2 separate regions of the Homo sapiens genome follow, and region 2 is linked to region 1. Evidence: promoter capture Hi-C in human tissues and cell types (Jung and others, 2019). All regions are on one chromosome and are shown on one strand. The core of a region is centred on a gene start or on the middle of the fragment in contact, and the rest is flanking DNA. Distances in the headings are between cores, read along the strand shown.

Evidence for each region. The method cuts DNA at HindIII sites, captures the fragments that hold promoters and counts their contacts. A contact is called where the count stands out against the background at its distance.
Region 2: a fragment that was not itself captured here is called in contact with the fragment with the promoter of CAMKK1 in region 1 in 1 of the 25 tissues and cell types used here (pancreas).

What each region holds. Positions count from the first base shown.
Region 1 is chr17:3,890,898-3,895,334 of GRCh38, reverse strand. CAMKK1 (calcium/calmodulin dependent protein kinase kinase 1) reads left to right here and starts at 2,282. Exons shown (of 16, transcript NM_032294.3): 1 at 2,282-2,396. RefSeq lists silencers at 1,836-2,375, 2,406-2,585, 2,726-2,975. The HindIII fragment of the contact is 23,333 bases long and covers 1-4,437 here.
Region 2 is chr17:2,865,388-2,869,824 of GRCh38, reverse strand. All of the region lies in intron 2 of RAP1GAP2 (RAP1 GTPase activating protein 2), which reads right to left. Among named protein-coding and RNA genes, the nearest start is that of RAP1GAP2, 71 kb to the right of the region's middle. The HindIII fragment of the contact is 4,532 bases long and covers 1-4,437 here.

The sequences.
Region 1 (4,437 bases), core at 1,033-3,532:
TCCCCCTCTTCTGCCTCCTCCTGGCCCAGGTTCCCCAGCAGCTCTGCCCCTCTCCCCTCACTGCAACCCTTCCAGAAAGACCAGTCCACACTTCCCTCTGCAATTGGCCTCCACCCCAACCACTTCTCCTAGGTGCCCTTGCCAAGGTCACTGGCAGTGTCCTGGTTGCCAAGTCTTAAGCAGACACTTGGGCCCCATATCCTGCTTGGCCTGACAGCTTCTCACATTGTTGTCCAAGCCTTCCTTGTCGAAAGATTTCCTTCCAGCAGCTCCTAGGACACACCCTTTCCTGACTTCCCAGCCTGTCTGGCGTGCAAGGAAAAGACAGGTTTCAATTGCAGCTCTGCCACAGTTCACTGTGTGTCCTTGGGGGAAGTGGCTTAACTCTCCAAGCCTCCTCTGTGAGTCAAGGATAATAACAACTTCTTTTTTTTTTTTTTTTTAAATAGAGACAGAGTTTCACTATGTGGACCAGGCTGTTCTCAAACTCCTGGGCTCAAATGATACGCTCCACCTCAGCCTTCCAAAGGGCTGGGATTACCGGCATGAGCTACTGCACCCGGACAATAATAGCTTTTAGTAGGGTTGAGGAAAGACCTGTAAACAGCACCTGGCATACAGTCGAGCTCTGCCCCTCAATCTATCCACCCTCTCAATGGTGGAGTCCACTAGTTGTTCCGGATATCTGTTCTCCCGGTAGCAATTCAGTCCTTGGTTCTTGGTTGGGCATGTGGCTGCCCAGAATGGAAGCTGCATTTCCCAGCTTTCTCTTGCAGCTGGGTCTGGTCATGTTAAGTAAGCTCAAGCGGTGTATGTGAAAGTGCCACGTGGCAACTTCTGGGAACTTTCCTGAAAAGAGAGCTGGTGCAGACCCTCTGCCCTCTTCTTCATCCTTTTCTCCACTCCACTGCCTGGAATGCGTTATGTGATTGCTGGAGCTCTAGCTGGTATCCTGAACCATGAGGTCAAAAGCCACACTCAAGTTGCTGGAATTATTCATTCAACAACATCCACTGAGCACCTGTGCCATGCGACAGGCTGTGTGCTGGACGAATCAGGCACAGTGCTTGCCATCCAGGAGCTCCCAGTCCCAATGAGGAACCAGCAGGTAAACAGATGCCAGGTACAAGGAAGTACCTGGGTGGGGCCACTAACCCATGCTGGAAGTGGGGAGGTCATGGAGAAGGTTTCCAGGCAGAAGTAGGATTGAATTGAACCCTGAAAGACGAGTAGGCGTTAAACAGGCAGGTGGCTGGGAGTAAGGCTATACAGGGCTTGATTAGACCTATTCTCACGGTGAGCCATAGAAAATGCCTCTCGGTGGACTTGTGTTCCTGAAAACTTGCTCTGGGTGCCAGGGAGAGAAAGGCTAGTAGGAGGTGAGACTGGATGGGGCTGGAGGCCAGGGAGGAGGCTGCTGCAGCAATCAGGGACAAGATGGTGGTAGCCTGAGCTAAGGGAGGGGAAGTGGGGTGGAGAGGAGTGGGCCGATTCCAGGGATAGTTAAGAGGCAGTATGGCAGGGCCTGGAGATGGACTGGTTGGAGCAGGAAACAGGGAGGCAGCAGGTGACTCCCAGGCTCCTGGCTCCACTTCGAGACAGGGACGCAGGAGGTTAGATTTGGGGGAAGGATATGGGGCAAGTGGTGGTGCCAGAGGATTCACACGCGGAGGCGTTAGGGGAAGAGGTGGCGGCAGAGTCCCCAGGAACAGCCACAGCGAAGGTCACCTCACTGTCCTGCTGAGTTCCCTCTACTCCCTCGGCCCTCGCTAGGCCATTCCTGTCGCCGGCTCACCGAGCAAGCACTTCACTCTGTGCTAAGCCACCTCTCGGCCTCTCTGCCCCCGCCCCGCAGAAGCTACACTCCTGGGCCTGCCATTCAAGGCCTTCCTCCCCGGGCCTCGCCCCTCCCTCGCACGCACCGCGCCTCGCCCGGGAGGGAGGGGCGCTCTGGCTCCTGCAGGCCGGGATGGGGGCGCAAAGGGTTTGGCGGGGAAGCACGGTCCCCTGCAGGCCCAGGAGAAGGGCCCACGCCGCGGCCGGGAGGGACTTCGGGGACCCCAGGACGCCGGGGGCGTGGCGAGGTCGGCCCCGCCGCAGGGGAGGGAGGGCCCCTACCGCGCCGCCCACCGCGGTCCCTTAGTCCAGGAGGGGGCGGGAGTCCCGGGCTCCGATTGGGCGGCGCTGGCGGGGCCGTTCGCTCCGACCAATGAGCGCCGGCCGGGCGCGGCGGTGGGCGGGGCAGCGAGCGCTGCCCGGAGCCGCGGCGCCCGCGGGCTGAGCTCGGCGATCTGGGCCCCAGCGAGGCGGTGGGGCGGGGCGGGGCGGGGCGGGGCGCGCAGCAGGAGCGAGTGGGGCCGCCCGCCGGGCCGCGGACACTGTCGCCCGGCGCCCAGGTAGGGATCGGCGGGGCGGGGACGCGGGCGAGGAGCAGGAGGACGAACGCCTTAACACCTGCCCCGAGCCTGCAAGGGAGAGGCGGGGGGGGTCTGCCAGGCCGCGTCTACGAGGGAGCTGGGATCTGGTCAGGGCGGGGATCCTTCCCCTTCTGTCTGCGGGGCCGGGTCTGCGGGGTGCCTCGCGGAGTCTGCTCGGGTCTGCGCCGGCCGCCGGGACCGCATCGCCGCGGGTGCCCCGCCGTCTGCGTTCTTCCCCGCTTCTGTCTGCGGACCGCATCCATCCCCGGTGCACTGTCCCCCGCGCCCGGCTCCTGGTGGAGGCCACGTCTGTGCGGAGTGGGCCCGGCCCGGGGCACCCACGTGCGGTTCTCCGCGGAGCGCTCCTCCCACGGCCCGCCGGAGCGTCTTCCTGCAGGAGCCGGGGGCGGGGTGGGAGATGAATGGGGCGGCGGCGGCGCGCGGCTCAGGCTGCGCAGGGTCCTGCCTTGGCTGGGGCGAGAGGGGGCGGCAGAGGCGGGCGCTGCGGCTTCGGGGCCCGGGAGGCGCAGGGCTGGTGGCTGGGGGGGTGTCCACGTGCGCAGGGACCTGCGTGTGCTGTTTGGAGGCGGGTGTGCGTGTGTCACGTGGACGCGGGAGTGTGCCTGTGTCTGCGTGGGGGGTGCAGGACAGGATGGAGTGGTGTGTGAGGGCGGGTCACGCGGACACGGGCGTGTGCCTGTCAGGGGAGGGGGTGTGCTCAAGTCTTGGCGTTGCAGGGCTGTGCAGAGAAGGCTGTGTCACAGGCCACAGGACCGGGCCTTGGTGGTGTCCGCAGGGCGGGCACAGGAGTGTGGGAGGGGCACACAGCCTGTGCGCGCTGGAGGATCCCAGGGAAGTGGCGCTGGCCTCCCCAAGCCCTGCCCTCTTTCCTCCAGTACATACAAATTGACCCCCCACTGCGTCCCAGGCGCACACACTCTGGGGACCCTTCGCCTCTTCCTCGGTCTCCCACCGTCAGTCCTCACAGCAGCCATGGGAGTCGTTTTAAACCTCACCTAACCGAGGCACTCCCCTGCTCACAACCTCCCCCTGGCTTTGGGGGCCTCCTGGGCTCTGTCCACCAAGCTCTCCCCACCCCCAAACCAAGCCCGGAGTCCCAGCCAGGAAATGACTCTCCTATATGCACAGTGCAAACTTCCATCCTCGCCTCATCCTGAAATCCTGCTCAGTGCTCAGAAGAGAGCTCAGGTGCCACCTCCTCTAGGAAGCCATCCCTGAGGCCAGCACAATGAGTGAGGGGGCTTTCTCTCCAGATGTAACTCCTCTTGCTATCAGGTGCCTCTTATGTGGGGAAGACTCCACTCCAGCCACGTCAGCCTCCCTGCTGTTCTTCATACTGAGCAAGCACTGTCCCCTCATGGCGTTTGCACCTGCTGGTCCCTGCACCTGAAATGCTCTTCCCCAGATAACTACACTGCCTACTGCCCCTTCCTTCCTTCAGGTGTCTGCTCCAGTCCTGCTCCCAAAAGGCCTTCCTCAACTACACTGTATCAGCAGCATCTCCCAGCCCCTTTCTCTTGATCCTTCTTACTCGGCTGTATTTTTCTTCCTATATGTACCACTTGACATATCATATCTGAATCACTGGCTTTCTTGTTTGTTGCTTCTTGCCCCCACGAGAAATTAAACTGTATGAGAGCAGAGACTTGGTCTTTTTGGTTCACTGCTGTATCTCCCCACACAGGCTTGCACAGAGTCTGGCAGACAGCAGGTGCTCCGTGACTATTTGTGCTTGCATCCCAGGCGTCCATGTCCCTGGCTGCTCCCTAGCCTGTGACCCCCCCCCCAACCTTGCCCCCAGTCTGAGGCCACTTCTGCTCCTCTATCCATGACATTCCGAGTTCCTGGAAGGCCAGGTCTGGGAGAACTATAACCACATTTGCATGTTGGAAATCCCTCCAGCAGCTGGTGTGGAGGATGGGGTAGGGTGGGGTGGAGGTGTTAGCCTGGAGTCAGGGAAGACCCACATAGTGGGAAACGAAGCAGTGGGTAGAATCTG
Region 2 (4,437 bases), core at 1,000-3,499, 1.0 Mb after region 1:
TGGCTGACGGCTGGCCATGAGCCCAAGACTGCAGGAAAGGGAAATGTCAGGATGAGAAGGGAGCTCGCAGAAGGTGGCCCAGCGCTGCCCGCACCTGCTCCCGGGACCTGACCTTCCCCAGCAACACGTGACCCTCAGTGGGGGTGTGAGCTTGGGCAGGACAGAGCCCTGAGGGACCTTCAACTTCAGAACGTGGGCTGTTGGGGAAGGGAGGGCTGCTGCTTCCCTGGAGTCCCCAAGGCACTTTGGTTCCCAACTCAGCTGAGCATTCACAGAGACCAGGCGAGAACCACCAGCCAGCCCACCCCATCTTCAACCAGAGGAACGCTTTTTCTATTGTACATATTAAGGTTTTGCATAAAGTTTGTTTAGGTTTTTTTTTTTTCATCATTTTACCCCTTTTTAAGTTTGCAATTCAGTGGCATTTACATCGTTGTACAACTAACCCCATTGTCCATTTCCAGAACTTTATCATCATCCCGAACAGGAACTTTGTACACATTCAACAAAAATTCTCTTTCCCTCCAACACCTGGCAACCTCTATTCTACTTTCTGCCCCTAGGAATTTGCCTATTCTAGGTGCCTCATATAAGCATACTATACACTATAAGAGTAGATAGACTATAGACTATATTTGTGCACCCCTTAAAATTTCTGTGTTGAAATCCTAACTAACACTGCCGTGGTATGAGGAAGAGGGGCCTTTGGGAGGTGATTGGGTCAGGAGGAGTGAAGCCCTCATGAATGGAATCAGTGCCTTGGAAAAGAGGCCCCTGAGAGCTCCCTTGCCCCTTCGCTATGTGAGAACATGGCGAGAAGACGGTTGTCTGTGATGCAGGATTTGAGCCCTCATGAGACACCCCATCTGCCAGTACCCTGAACTTGGACTTTCCAGCTTCCAGAAGTGGGAGAAGTAAATGTTGGTTTAAGCCACTCAGTCTATGGTATTTTGTGATAGCAGCTCAAACAGACACAGACAAAGTGGAATTAAACACTATCTGTTCTGGCCGGGCACAGTGGCTCACACCTGTAATCCCAGAATTTTGGGAGGCCAAGGCAGGCAGATCACCTGAGGTCAGGAGTTCGAGACCAGCCTGGCCAACATGGTGAGACCCTGTCTCTACTAAAAAATACAGAAATTAGACAGGCGTAGTGGCACATGCCTGTAATCCCAGCTACTCGAGAGGCTGAGGCAAGAGAATAGCTTGAACCTGGGAGGTGGAGCTTGCACTGAGCTGAGATCGTGCCACTGCACTCCAGCCTGGGTGACAGAGCAAGACTCCATCTCAAAAAAAAAAAAAAAAAAATTGCACCTGGTAGAGGAATTGCTAAATAAGATTTTTGCCTACACACATAAAAGACTTTCATTAGTCTTAGTCGCATTTCACACATGGGAAAGCCAAGGGCCGCAGTTTCGACACCATGTACGTTCAAGATCATATATCCCCCTGGGTTTTTCCTGAGGCCGCTCCTCTGCCCTTCTGCAGTCGTGTTTTTGCCATCTAGAGGTGCCTATCTCTAAGACCTCTGAGACTTCCTCTGGGCCTGGCCCTCCACCAGGGGGATGGATAGCAGAGAGCCAGCCCTTCTCTCAGCCAGGGCCTCGTAACCAAAAGCATCCACTGGCCAGACGTCTGGAAGGAGGGGCAATCTGTATTCAAGGAATCCGGACCTGCTGGGGTGGAGGGCAGCTGGGTGCCACAAAGCATAAGCAAAACAGGAAGGGGACACATTATCCAATCCCAGAGCCGAGAGCCAACCCCGAGCAAAGCCAGGCTGTCCTCTCAGACCAGGTCCAGCGCGGTCACAGGCTGAATGCTTTGATGTTCAGAATGGACTCAGAGAAAAGACAGCCCAGGAAGTGTGTTTACTACCAAAGGCTTGGGGATCCCGCGAGCTGCATCCGTGAAGAAGAAAGCACACCTCATCCAGCCAAGGCAGAAGGAAGCCTCCTTGCGTCTGGGAGGGTACCAGCAGCTGCAGCCACCAGCCAAGTTGACAAGACCGTGCCAAGATCAGCATCAACTAAGCCACTAGGGCCAGCAGAGTGGACAGCTGTTGGCATTTTTACTGCCCAGCTTCCATCCCCTGAGCTTCTGAGAGCAACATGCCAGGTTTCCTTAGGTGACCCATCCCTCCTATACTCCCAGCCAAGTCCCTGCATCCCGGGAACCAGCGGTGGGCGTAAGACCTAGACTTCATGAATCAGTGTATCCCACCCCTCTGGCCAAAGTTCAGGGATGCGTATGTGACTCACTTTCTGTCCAGGGTGAGCCATCCCTGGGACATCTGCTGAAATGATTGGGAAACAGATTTGCTCTTCCTGTTGGTATTGCTAAGTGGGTAGAAGGTCAGCCCAGGGCAGCCATCGTCCATCTTCGTGGATAAGGTACCTGAGGACGAAGGCAACCCAAAGGAAGGCACAGCCTAGAGACGGGGTGAAAGAACCAGTGTCCAAAGACCCCACTGGAGCTCTCGATCCAGCCAGGCCTGAATCCGTCCCCCTTGAACCTTCCAGTTACCTAAACCCCAAAGCTTCATTTTTTCTTTACATTAATTTGAATTGGGGCTTGCCACTTCAAACCAAAAGTTTCTTGACTAAATCAGCTAAATGACCAATCAGAGGCCAGGCACGGTGGCTCACACCTGTAATCCCAGCACTTTGGGAGGCCAAGGTGAGGGGAATCACGACACCAGGAGTTCGAGACCAGCCTGGCCAACATGGTGAAACCCCGTCTCTACTACAAATACAAAAATTAGCTAGACATGACAGTGGGCACCTGTAATCCCAGCTACTTGGGAGAATGAGGCAGAAGAATCATTCGAACCTGAGAGGTGGAGGTTGCAGTGAGCCGAGATTGTACCACTGCACTCCAGCCTGGGTGACAGAGTGAGACTCCATCTCTAAAATAAAAAATAAAATAGGCCGAGTGCAGTGGCTCACACCTGTAATCCCAGCACTTTGGGAGGCCAAGACAGGCAGATCGCTTGAGGCCAGGAGTTCGAGACCAGCCCGGCCAACGTGGTGAAACCCCATCTCTACTAAAAACATAAAAATTAGCCGGACCTGGTGGCGGACACCTGTAATCCCAGCTACTCGGGAGGCTGAGACAGGAGAATCGCTTGAACCCGGGAGGCGGAGGCTGCAGTGAGCCGAGATCGCACCACTGCACTCCAGCCTGGCGACAGAGGGAGATGCTGCCTCAAAAAATAATAAAATAAAATAAATAAATAAAATAAATTACCAATCAGAAGGGACATTTGGGGGTATTATCTACTGCCTCACCAACACAAAGGCCCTTGGGCCCCAAACCTCTATTTAATAAAAATCACAATAACACAAATGTTACAGAATTGTTTCATGTATAACACTGACTGACTCTGTTTTTGTATTCTAACTGGGGTACCAACTGCCCTGAGTCTAGGGGAGGCGGGGAGCAGGGAAGCCTCCCACAGCCTGACCTGCCCTTCTTTCCCCAGCATTCAACACCTAACACGAAATGGCCCCAGGCCGCCCTAACAGCCTCATCTCCCACGTTCCCCAGCAGGGAATCCACACCACAGCCAAGGTGGGATCTGAGCGGGCCCCTGTTTTTTTATCTTGGCCCCTTGTCTTCCACTGTCTCCTTTGGGGATGTGCTTCCCACTCCATCTCTCCCTTCAGACATCCTGTCCAGTCCCCGAGGCCCACTTCAAATGCCACCAACTCCAGGCAGCCTTCCTTGGGCGGTCCCCCTTTCTTCTGACCTCCAGGGCTCCCTGCACCTCTTCTCCACACCTCCCTCTTCTGTCTTGGATTCACATTCCATGGTTGATCTCTGCTTCAGGAGCATGGGCTGCTGGAGGCAGGGAGGGCACCCGCATATTGATGGAGGTGAACTGAATGAGTGAATGAACGTTTGGGACACAATCCATTTAAGGAGGGACTGCAGCTTGCATTTGCATTCATGGAGGGGAAAGAGAGGGGCAGATGCCACCAAGAGGGCTGGCAGCCCTTTCTAGAAGGGGGCTGGGGGTCAGAGGAGCTGCAATGTGGAAGCCAGGCATCTCGGTTCCCATCACTTGCACCACGGCTGAGTCCTGCCTCCATGTGGCCATACCCTTGGGGGACCTTCTGGCCATCCACAAGGGGCATTTATTGCTGTCACTCTCAAAAGCCCTTCCTGGCACATTTGCAGATCTCGTTTTCAGATGGCCTGTTTCAGTGACCTATTGATTTACATGCTGTTTCTGTCTGTGCATCTCAAAGATCTTATTAAAATAGACGTTCTATTAAAATACAGATGGCACAGGTAACCCAGGCTGCAGCCGGGACCTTCCAGTTCATATCGAGAAGTGAGAATTTCTGTTCTCATTAGTGAGGCCAGCAGCCAGGAGACCTTTCAGCTTATCTGACACCTGACAGGACAGACCTTTCCCTGCTCTAGGCTCCACCC